Regions from separate parts of the Homo sapiens genome. Here region 2 is linked to region 1. The links are contacts of gene promoters, found by promoter capture Hi-C in human tissues and cell types (Jung and others, 2019). All regions are on one chromosome and are shown on one strand. Each heading gives the region's core, a stretch centred on a gene start or on the middle of the fragment in contact. The rest is flanking DNA. Distances are from core to core; before and after follow the strand shown. Region 1 holds the start of SLC35D2 (solute carrier family 35 member D2). Region 2 overlaps CDC14B (cell division cycle 14B).

The links. The method cuts DNA at HindIII sites, captures the fragments that hold promoters and counts their contacts. A contact is called where the count stands out against the background at its distance.
Region 2: a contact is called between a fragment that was not itself captured here and the fragment with the promoter of SLC35D2 in region 1, in 1 of the 25 tissues and cell types used here (spleen).

Annotation. Positions count from the first base shown.
Region 1 is chr9:96,381,542-96,387,849 of GRCh38, forward strand. SLC35D2 (solute carrier family 35 member D2) reads right to left here and starts at 2,170. Exons shown (of 12, transcript NM_007001.3): 1 at 1,936-2,170. The coding sequence starts at 2,093. It overlaps SLC35D2-HSD17B3 (SLC35D2-HSD17B3 readthrough), which reads right to left and starts at 2,170. Exons shown (of 26, transcript NR_182427.1): 1 at 1,936-2,170. It overlaps ZNF367 (zinc finger protein 367), which reads right to left. Exons shown (of 5, transcript NM_153695.4): 5 at 4,400-6,308. RefSeq lists silencers at 1,769-1,818, 1,829-2,158. The HindIII fragment of the contact is 24,287 bases long and covers 1-6,308 here.
Region 2 is chr9:96,577,431-96,583,176 of GRCh38, forward strand. The region is part of intron 1 of CDC14B (cell division cycle 14B); the gene reads right to left. Among named protein-coding and RNA genes, the nearest start is that of CDC14B, 40 kb to the right of the region's middle. The HindIII fragment of the contact is 4,829 bases long and covers 1,853-5,746 here.

The DNA.
Region 1 (6,308 bases), core at 920-3,419:
TCACACTGCATACTCTCCCCTCCCTCTCTCCCTCACTCCCTTTCCTGTTTTATTTTTTCCCCAGCACCTTGGTCACATCTGACATAATGTAAATGTTACTGGCTCATTTATTGGTCCACAAGGATGCAGCTCCGTGAAGTTAAGGATTCTGATCTGCTCTTTTCACTTCTCTTTCCCAAGAACGGTGGGAAAACACTGTTCTCCTCGAACAGTGCTGGTACATCACAAGTGCTTAGTGAAAGCTATCAAAAATGAGAGAAAGAGCTGACTCCTGCCTTCCCTGCCTACCTCCCCGCCCAGGCACAGTGATCTTCTCTCTGTTCCTCCAGCAGCCAAGCTCATGCCCACTTCAGCACATTGTACACTTGCTGCTCACTTCTACCTGGAATGCTCTGTGACAGCTACTCCAGCCCAGGCACTCTCACATCAGATCTGAAAGTGTCTCGTTTATTCATGAACCTACCTGTTTATTTTCTGTCTCCACCACTGAAGCAGAATCTCCAGAGCAGGGACCTTGTGCTGTTCACAGAGGCTTCCCTGGTGCTTGCAATGGGCTCAGTATTTAGTAGGTGCTTAATAAATATCTGTTGGAGGTACAACCAATCGAGCTTATGTGGGCCTCAGTTTTCTCGAATATAAAATAAGAAAGGTGAGGCTGGATGAGATAGTTTGCACCTGTAATCACAGCACTTTGGGAGGCCAAAGCAGGCCTAGACCAGCCTTGGAAACACACTGAGACCCCACCTCTACAAAAAATCAAAAAAATTGCCGGTGCAGTGGTGCACACCTATGGTCCCAGCTTCTCTGGAGGCTGCAGCAGAAGGATTGCTTGAACCCAGATGGTCGAGGCTGCAGTGAGTCATGATTGTGTCACTACACTCCAGCCTAGGCAACAGAGTGAAACCTTGTCTCAAAAAAATATTATACACACACACACACACACACACACACACACTATATATATATATATATATATGCCTGCCTTGGCCTCCCAAATGCTGTGATTACAGGTGCAAACCACCTCAGCCAGCCTCAGCTTTCGTATTTTATATTCGAGAAAAGTGAGACCCACATAAGCTGAATCTGTATGTATATATAAAAAAAGAAAGCTGATACTCTAAGATACTCTCTAACTAAGACACTCTAGGTCTCTTTGGGCTCTAAAATGTTGATGGCATATTCTTGTAACATAGTAGAGTTTACAAAGAGCCTTCACATATAACAGCTCGTGCAGAGCCCTGGAGGGTAATTAACACGATTGTAATCATTCAGGTTTTTTGCATCTGAAAAAAATTGCTGACTGTGAGACTGGTCCAAAAAGACAGGTGTTAACCGGTGGAGCTGGGTCTAAATCCACAATTTTCTCAGTGCCGCTACAATGGTAGCAGAATTAAGCAGGATTTTCTAGTCCTTACAAATAGGTTCAAGGCAGCACAAATTTGCGTTTACTTCACACTAATCCAAAAAAGTACTCCATATGAACTTCCAATTGTTTTCCCGAGTTTTCCATGAACACGCTGGTCATCTGAGAATGAACAGTCAATCAATACAGACTTACTGGCTCAGGAGTACCTGACCGTTGAACATGGAGATCTGTGTAAGGAATTGCGTCCTTTGAAGCAGGCATTTGAATCCCTGTTTTCAGCTCGCTGGGTGTATGAAAGAATCTGTCTGAGCTCTACCAGCCCACCTAGGACAGGGCGCCTCGCAGCAGGGCAGGCGCGCTCAGGAAGAGAACGACTTTCTCAGGTTGTGGCCTGAGTGTAGAAAGCTGAGCGAGTTCTGGAGGGCGCCTGGGAAACTCGACCAATGTGCCCAGCTGAGACTCGAGGGTCCCTGTCCCCACCCGCCCTGTCCCGGGCGCCGCTGAAGCGCACGGAGGACAGGGGCAGCCCCGCACTCCCGCAGACCCCCCGGCCCCGGGCCCCGCCTCACCCGTAGGTGGTCAGCAGCGCCTTGTTGACAAGCACGATGAGGAAGGAGCAGGTCCCGTAGAAGAGCGCCGACAGCAGCCGGGCCACCCGCGAGGGCAGCCGCGCCGCGCCGGGCTCCCCGCCAGCGCCCTCGGCCTCGGCCTGGCCGCCGGCCGTCATCTCCTGCGGCCCCGCGGACCCCGCCGCCCGCCAGCCCCGGCTGCGCACTGGTCCCGCCCGGCCGGGCCGGGGAAGAGGGCGCGGCAGGAACAGGAAGAGCCCGGCGCAATCCCAGGTCCCGACCCGCCCCCTGCGAGCGCCCGAGGCCGGCGCGGGAGGACCCTGCGCGCTGGACTTCACCCTGGTTCCAGGCACCTCCTTCGGTCTCCAGGGCCGGCAATGCGCTGGGGAGTTGAAAAGCGCTGCCTTCCTCCAGGCTTTCCTGGAAAGAAACGCTTCAGTAAGTCTCAGGGCTTGTTTTGCTTTTTTTTTTTTTTCCCTACAACTTTTTTGTTTAGTGTATAATTTACATACAATGAAGTGTACACATCTTGCCAGTCCATAGTTTGAGATGAGCTTCGACAAAGGCATCCACAGGAGTAACTACTCAAAACAACATTTCCATCGCCCCAAAAATTCCCCTTGCTGCCCCTTTGAAGTTAACGCCCGCATCTCATCGATGACTATTGCTGTAGGTTAGGTTTGCCTTTTCCGGAATTTCAAATAAACAGGGTGCTTTCTAGAATTTATGAATGAGCATGTGGTCTCAGGGGTTTTCACTCTATGCTTTGGACTCGACCATGTGGTTTGTTTAATCGTTGAATAGTATCACAAATTGTGTATCCATTGGTTGTTTCCAGTTTAGGACCATTAGGAAAAATGCTTCCATGAAAATTCGTGGGCGTTTGTGGGACCTGTGTCTTCATTTCTCTTAAATAAATATCTAGGAGTGGAGTGGCTAGGAGTAAGGTGGGTGAAGCCTTGGGACTTGGGTGTCCTCTGGGTGCTTTGTGGTAGGTGCATTCCTCGCGGAGGGCCGTTTGCCTTCGGGTCAGGTCAGTTGAAGGACAGCTTCCCAGAACCGCCTACCCTTGTCAGTCTTTAAAAAATATGAACTTTTGGCCAGGCGCGGTGGCTCACACATGTAATCCCAGCACTTTGGGAGACCGAGGCGGGCAGATCACGAGGTCAGGAGATCGAGACCATCCTGGCTAACACGGTGAAACCCCGTCTCTACTAAAGATACAAAAAAAATTAGCCGGGCGTGGTGGCGGGCGCCTGTAGTCCCAGCTACTCAGGAGGCTGAGGCAGGAGAATGGCGTGAACCCGGGAGGCAGAGCTTGCAGTGAGGCGAGATCGCGCCACTGCACTCCAGCCTGGGCGACAGAGCAAGCCTCCGTCTCAAAAATATATATATTATATATTTAATATATAATGTATATTATATATATATATATATATGAACTTTTAGCTTCTTAGAAAAGCTTAAGATTTCAAGTTAAATAAAAGTTGGGGCCTAACTATATAGATGCCCAGAGAATTGTTTTTCTACCCTTAGGCACTAAACAACCAGGAGAATGAAAACTGGGAAACATTTTCAGCCCTGATAAGAACTAAAGCAGAACTCGTGAAAATTAGCTAGCATTAAAAAGACCAGAAGTGCCCAAGTTACCCAAAACAAGAAAGAAAAGACATGTTAAGTCCGTTTTAAAAGAGAAAATGAATCCATATTCAAGTTAAACAGGAAATCGGTCATTTTGGTTAATTTCCTCAGAACATTCAATTTTCTTGTGAGTCTCCAAATGTTTTGACTGCAAAAAGAATATTTTAAAGTTATTTTTAATGATGACCTTCATCATAATTGCATTTAGTTTGATTGTATACACATACTTCCAGGACCTTACCTCGCTGTCAAAATCCCATCCTTACCCTGTTTAAACAGCAACTCACACTAAGGAGTTGCTTGTGATATTCTTCTGCACAAGGGTAGGACAGGCTGACCCTTGCCACTGCAAATACACAACTAAAGATCTACCAAAAATAACTGATGAAAAAAGAAAACCAATTTGCTAGACTCTTAGAAAAGTACACAGGCTTTAAATGGATTCTTGAGGAGCTGACCCCAGAGACAACCCATCCTAAATGTAAGTGAAATGAAATCCCTTTTCCTTATTACCCTAATTTAAGGCCTGGAAATGGGGTGGCAATAGTTCAATACTTATCCACAGCAGTATATTTTTAACACTGTAGTAATGAACCCGATGAGGAAGTTAAATATCTATAACCTTAAAAGCCATAATTAAAGTAAGAAAAAGCAATCCACACTGTACTTACAACTACGCAAACATGTACTGAAATAATACTGATGGCTGAACATAAGGCTGTAGGTGATGTTTCTATCTTTTAAATTTTTTTATATCATGGTTATTATATTTTCGATAGGAAAACAAATGATAAAGGCTTTAAGAATGACCGTGTACTTTAAATTTTAAATTAAAATAAATTTTTATTCAAAGCATCTTTTAAAATTACAGCATGTTTATTCTTATGCTGTTAACTCTGCCAAACTACAACTTAGCCATATGAAGCATAAAACACTTCAAAAATTTGAATGTAAACCATTTTTTAAAACAAAAAGCAGTCTTAACACACCTCAAATTTTAGATACCAATGTATTTTTCCAAGTATATAGCTTATATCAAAAAGAACATTTTAAATGTTTCTAAATAGTTGTGATAATTTCTTAAACTGTTGCAATTATACAAATAAAAAATGTTTATGAAAAAACTATTAGAGTTGACAAAAGCTGACTGGAGAAACAAGGAAAAACCCTTACTTTTGAAGGCCTTAAATGTTATCATCTGTGAATTGGCAAATATTTGTATTTGAAAAATTCTTACTACCCTTCCTTCTTTAGTTAAGTTGATCAAAGTTCAAATTTCCCAAGACTGATGAGTGTTGTTTTTAGTTCATTAAATCACATATTTGAGAGCAAAAATTCTAGAGGAAATGCTGAAACATAAACCAAGATAATTCAGATGCTATAGTCTCTCTTACCAGCTTATAAGTGCTCCAAATTAAAATTCTATATACCACATTACAAAAAAATTCTTAGACCATTACAAATATAAATTCTCTTATTACAAAAAAATCCCTAAAGATTTGTAATTTACTGTACAGAGGAATTACATTTTTAAAGTATGTCCTCATCATACACATTATTCGTAACTATCGTATCTTCTTTCATACTTTTTCTCCTCTTCAAGACATTTACATGCCTCCCCTTCCCCGTGGCTACATATTTTAAACTATCTGTGTACTATGACACATTGGGATTTTTGGATAAAGAAGCCTACTTTGTAATGTTTAAACTACATCTGTAGGAACGTCTTCAACTCAAAAAAGCTAAAAAGGCACTGAAGAGCCCATATTTCCCTCTATTACTCTGAGTTTTACTCCAATTAAGCGATCTGTAAGTTACCATGCTATGCATGTCATTTAGTTCTGTTTAGAACAAAAGCCAAAATGATGGAAGTTTTGCCTACATAAAGGAGGTGGTCTGCTCAGCTCTTGATTTTTCTGTTCATGCTTCAGTACATAAAGTGGTGTTTAATAACTTTATTTGGAAAAATGGCTTCAAACCACCACACAAGTTAACACACTTGCAGTTAAAACTATTTCAGAAGCCTACTTATTTGAGTAGCTAATATTTTCTGCAGTGTTTAACTGATAGCTAAATTTAGTGAACACAAAATAGCTTGGCATGTTACTCTGAAGTAAAGCAAGAAGGTGGCTTTATGCACTGAAAATATAAATATGGAGGCTTCCATTTGCTAATAATTCTAAACAAGCAGTACAATTAAAATGTAGTGTTTGCTAACAAAAGATCTAAAACATTTCACTACAAAACAACCCTGCAGGTGTCCCTTTAGTAAAAATCCAAGTGCCAAATCTCATTACAGGGCCCTTAATATGTATTTTTAAAATTACCAATTACTATGTTACCTAGACTTTGCAAGATTAATCACTCAATTTCAGCAAATGAGAAATATGAAATGTGCAAAAGTTCCCAAGTTAACATGCTAGGGATGACAAGTGCTTTTCAAACTTAAACATTATACTGAGTTGTAAAGCCCCAGATAGAATAAGACTGATTTTGCTCCAATTTCAAAAATTCTGAACTATTGTGCATCTTACCAAGAGCCTCAAATATCTATTTTCTTCTAAGTCCATTACTTAGAACATCTTCCAAAATAGCCTCCCATTTCTCTAGCCTTAGTGGGCACAGTATTTTGCAATTAAAATTATCTATCTTACATATTTTATACTTTCTTGCTTGCTTCAGTGTTTACAGTATTGTTAAACATACTAATATATATTGTTAAAAATGATCTT
Region 2 (5,746 bases), core at 3,017-5,516, 200 kb after region 1:
AATCTGAAGAAAATGATTTGCCTAAAAATGTCTCCCTCTATCACACCATTTTTCAAAAAAAATTAATTATTTCTGGATTAAAAAGTTGAACATAATAATTCTGGCTCTCCACATCCCAGGCCATGGTGGGACTGCTTGTGCTGACTGCTTTGTGGTTAAGTGAACAGAGGTGAGAATGCCACTCCCAGGCCAGACCACTAATCCATGGTGCCAAGACCCCACCGAACTCTCCCTCTATCCTGCAGCATTTAAGATTACAGCGGCAGTACAACCATTTTAGAAAGCTGACAGTATTTACATACAAAAAATAAACATAGCACATCTTCTGACTTAGTAATTCCAGTTCTAGATTTACATACAACAGAAATTCATACATATGTTCACCAAGAAAGGTATTTTTTAAAAGCTCATAGAATCATTATTTATAATAGGCAAACACTGAAAACAGCCCAAATGGGAACTTACTTACAATGGAATATTATATGGCAATGAGAGTGCCTGAGGCTACAGCCACACACATCACAAACAATGCTCACAAACATTTAGTGAAAGAAGCTGGAAGAAAAACAGAGTAAATACAGCATGATTCCATTTATGTAGATTTGAAAACCAAATTTACAGAACACACTATAAAAATATCTTTTAAGAAAAGGGGGTGGGAGAAGAGTGTGATACTGGAGCCAACCTGAAAAACTGCAATAGTCAAATAAAGAACAATTTGAGCAACAACGTAAGTATATAATATTGGATTTTAATCCAAAGTGTAAAGTAATATGCATGAATCCATACTGTCATAAATAAGTGATTGAGTAAGTAAATGGAGAGGAGACAAATCTTCCTCATAGAACAATTCCAAATTATACACATGTAGCTACTTCTCTCCAAGAAGTGATGCTTAACCCCTCCTTAGTCCCCTTTGAGTGTGGACTGGACTTAGGTGACTTGTTTCGAAGAATACAGTGTGGAAAGGGAAAAATAGTAACTTTACAGAAGAAAAACTTAGCAAACACTATTTTAACCAAATGCTCGTGACTAACCCGTGATGTCGTGTGGATTTCATGTACCTCTGACAAGATGTGATAGAAGGGCACTTCACCTTCTGTGGTATTCATGCCAAAAATCCAGTCTAGTCATGAGGAAAACAAGCACAAGCAGACATACCCAATTTGAGGCACATTCTACAAAATAGCTGACCCATTCTCCTCAAAACTGTCAAGATCATGAAAAACAAGGAAAGACTGAGAAACTTTCACAGACCTTAGGTGACTAGGCAGATGACAACTAAATGCAATGTGGATTGAATTTCAGAATAGAGAAAGGTTAATGGGAAAGCTGGTGAAATCCCAATAAAGTCTGCAGTATAATTAATAATAACACATCAGTATTGGTTTCTTTTTCTTTTCTTTGAGACGGAGTCTCACTCTGTTGCCCAGGCTGGAGTGCAATGCCGCGATCTCGGCTCACTGCAACCTCTGCCTCCTGGTTCCAGTGATTCTCCTGCCTCAGCCTCCCAAGTAGCTGGGATTACAGGCATGTGCCACCAAGCCCGGCTAATTTTTCTATTTTTAGTAGAGACAGGGTTTCACCATGTTGGCCAGGCTGGTCTCGAACTCTTGACTTCAGGTGATCCTCCCGCCTTGGCCTCCCAAAGTGCTGGGATTACAGGCATGAGCCACCGCACCCAGCCCAGTGTTGGTTTCTTAAAGTGCCACAGTAATGTAAGATGATGTTATGGACTGAATTGTGTCCCTAAAATTCTTATGTTGAAGCCTTGACCCCCAACGTGACTACAGGGAATAGGGCCTTTAAGGAAGAAATCAAGGTTAAATGAGGTCATACAGGTGGGACTGATATCCTTATAAGATGAGAGATACAGGCCAGGCGCAGTGGCTCACGCCTGTAATCCCAGCACTTTGGGAAGCCAAGGCGGGTAGATCACAAGGTCAAGAGATTAAGACCATCCTGGCTAACACAGTGAAACCCCGTCTCTACCAAAAATACAAAAAATTAGCCTGCATGATGGCGAGTGCCTGTAATCCCAGCTACTCAGGAGGCTGAGGCAGGAGAACGGCCTGAACCCGGGAGGCGGAGCTTGCAGTGAGCCAAAATCACGCAATGCACTCCAGCCTGGGTGACAGAGCAAGACTCTGTCTCAAAAAAAAAAAAAAAGGGAGATACCAGAGCACTCTCTCCCACTGAATGCACACAGGAAAGGTCACGTGGAGGTACAGGGAGAAGGCGGCAGTCTGCAAGCCAAGGACAGAGGCCTCAGCAGAAGCCAACCCCGCTGGCTCCTTGTTCTTGGCCTTCCTAAGCTCCAGAATTGTAACAAAATACATTTCTGTTGTCTACACCACGCAGACTATGCATAGCGTATTCTGTCACAGCAGCCCTAGATGACGAAGACAGATGACAACACTAGAGAAAAGTGAAACTGTGAGGCGGACAGAGGAATGCTCTACTATTTTTATCTTTTCTGTAACTCTAAAAGTTTTTTTTTTAAAGCAATTGACTAGGAGAAACTATTTGTAGCTTATATAACAAGGACTATATATAAATAAAAAACTATTTCTATGAAAATCTTAAAATTACACACAGTCCGATGAAAATAATCATATATTAAAAAGGCAAACCAGAAAAATAAATACAGATGACCAAAATCCATGTGACATATTTGGCCTAATTAGTAATTAGAAAAATGAAAATTACAAAATAATGAAATTTCATTTCATGCCATCCAGTTGGAAAAAAATTAAAATACTGATAGCAATCCTAGGGAAAGGTTGTGGGGAGAGTGCCACTTTTTTTTTTTTTTGAGACGGAGTTTCGCTCTTTTTTTTGCCCAGGTTGGAGTGCAATGGCCCAATCTCAGCTCACCGCAACCTCCGCCTCCCAGGTTCAAGCGATTCTCCTGCCTCAGCCTCCCGAGTAGCTGGGATTACAAGCATGCACCACCACGCCCGGCTAATTTTGTGTTTTTAGTAGAGATGGGGTTTCTCCATGTTAATCAGGCTTGTCTTGAATTCCCCACCTCAGGTGATCTGCCCACCTCGGCCTCTGAAAGTGCTGGGATTACAGGCGCGAGCCACTGCGCCCGGCTAGATTGCTACTTTTATACAAAGAAGGTGGACTGTAAATTGATGGGGGCGTTCTGGAGGGCAATCTGGCAGTATCTGTTATGCATGTAACCGGTAACCCAGCCAATCCCTCTATTGAAATCGACCCGAGAGAAATACTGGCATAGGAGTACTAAGAAGCAATGGACAGGTGTTCACTATAGCAGTGTCTGCAGTAAGACTAAATGGAAATAATTGTCATTAATATGGGAATAATTAAACCATGGCAATCATACTATCACTTAAAGTTAATAAAGTAGATCAATATGTAATCTTTCCACAGTCATACAAAGATCAACTAAGTATTTAAAAAACCTAATTGCATGATATATGTAAACAGAATAAATCAAAACTAAGCCTTATTTCTAAGGTAAATTTATATGTATAAAAATAAACAGATTTAAGCTCGGTGCGGTGGCTCATGCCTGTCATCCCAGCACTTCGGGAGGCAGAGGCGGGTGGATCACAAGGTCTGGAGTTCAAGACCAGCCTGACCAACATAGTGAAACCCTGTCTCTACTAAAAATACAAAAATTAGCCAGGCATGGTGGCGCGCGCCTGTAATCCCAGCTACTCAGGAGGCTGAGGCAGGAGAATCGCTTGAACCCAGGAGGTGGAGGTTGAGGTGAGCTGCGATTGCACCACTGCACTCCAGCCTGGGCAATAAGAGGGAGACTCTGTCTCAAAAAAGAAAAACAAAATTAACAGATTTGTATCCAATGAAGCACAAAGAAGAAAATAAATAAATAATCTTCTAAAATAAAGATAAACAGAGGGCCAGACACAGCGGCTCATGCCTATAGTCCCAGCTACTTGGGAGGCTGAGGCAGGAGGATCACTTGAGCCCAGGAGGTTGAGGCCACAGTGTGTTATGATTGCAGTACTGCACTCCAGCCTGGGCGATAGAGACCTCGTCTCTAAAAAAATTAAATTAATTAATTAAATTAATTAAATTTAAAAAATTAATTTAAAAATTAAAAAATTAAAAAAAGACAACAGAAAAATGCCCCTCCCAAAGAGTTACAGTGGTTACCAAGGAGATGGCCACTGTAAAGAGTTACAGTGGTTATCAAGGATTTGGGGGCAGGGAAGGAAGTATTTACTTTTTGAGTATTAGGTGGGTTTGAACGTGTTGGTGTTAGTCCATAAGTGAAAATATATTCCTCTGGGGAGTGAGGGAAGGATGAGGAGGAAGCCTTTCATCTTTCACAGTTATGTCCCCCTTAACCTTGGTGTCCTCTGCATCCCTGTTCAGTGTGGTCAAACAACAGCTATTTCCTGCCAGGACAAGATCCACCGTCCCAGCACAGATATAAGGTTAAATACAGCATTGGTAGCTAGTGCTCTGAAATGGAAAGATGCGATAACAACTCCAGCTAGTTGCCTTTCATCATCATCCTTCCTTATCCTAGTTTATCCCCTGCAGCCCTGGGCTGGAGACACAAAGCTGACTCCCAGTGCGCTTCATGGTGAGAACCAAGGGACGGCTCCATCAGCTAGCTCTCTGCTTCTCCTCCTGTTTTACGACAAAGGGCCCTGAAACTTAAGTCACTGGAAAAAACCTCTCCAGCCCCCGTCCCACATGCTGTCAATGTGACACTGTAAAAAGTAAAGTAGAGGTTCCTCTTCAAAGACTTTCCTCCCCGTCCAATTAGGAATAAATAGTAACTTTTCTTAGAAGCAAAATTTATCCAAAGACCTATGCTAACATTCTTAAATATCTGCTAACCATAATAAAAAAATCAATATACTTTATGTTCTTAGCTCCCACAATTTAGCCTAAATATTTGCCCTGGCATGCTTATACTGGTCCAAGCAAGCATTAGGTCATAGCCTGTTCCTCTTTAAAGTGTTTTTACCTTTCTCAGCATTTCACAAGTTACTTCCTCCTTCCTTTGTTCCACTCTACCTCTGCCTCTTTTAAAAAGTTCTAAGTTGCTAGTCAACTGGGACAAATACAGAATGTAAGGTACGGTTCCAGTCAATGGAAACTGGACACAGCAGTAGGGTGGATGCGTCAAGTTATAAATGACCCTGTCTCCTTTGTTTGGTGTACTTTCGTGACAAAACTGCTGGCGAGTGTACCCTTTCTGCAGGAAGTAAAAAAGGCCTTACTAAAAAAATTAAATGTATGTTCAAGTGCTATTTCTTTATGGCACTGAGGAACAAACATTTCAAACAACACAAAAGCAAAATCAGAGTTCAAGACCTTAGTTTCCTGTGTCACTGGATGCTGTATAATTAAACTCTCATCTGAGACTTTTACCAGATTTACTAATTAAATTGATCAGGATAGAGAATGGACTATCCAGATGAATTCCTCTTACTAATTTTATATAATGGGCCTGGGTTGTTTATTTACTTTAACTGCAGGGACAAGGATAAAACATATATGATTGGTTTAAGCTACAACAGGGAGCCGATCGGGCAGATCTGGTGGCAGTTGCTCTAATCAGAAACTTACACTCCAGAGACGGATGGCCATTATTAAAGCAGGGAGTCACATTCCAGAAATAATACAGTAGCTCTTCTGTTACGCATACCTCTGGAAAATTTATAATTCAAATACTGGGCATCAAAAATATTTTTATTGGTAAAATTAGTGGCATGTTCATCAGAATAATCCCTGT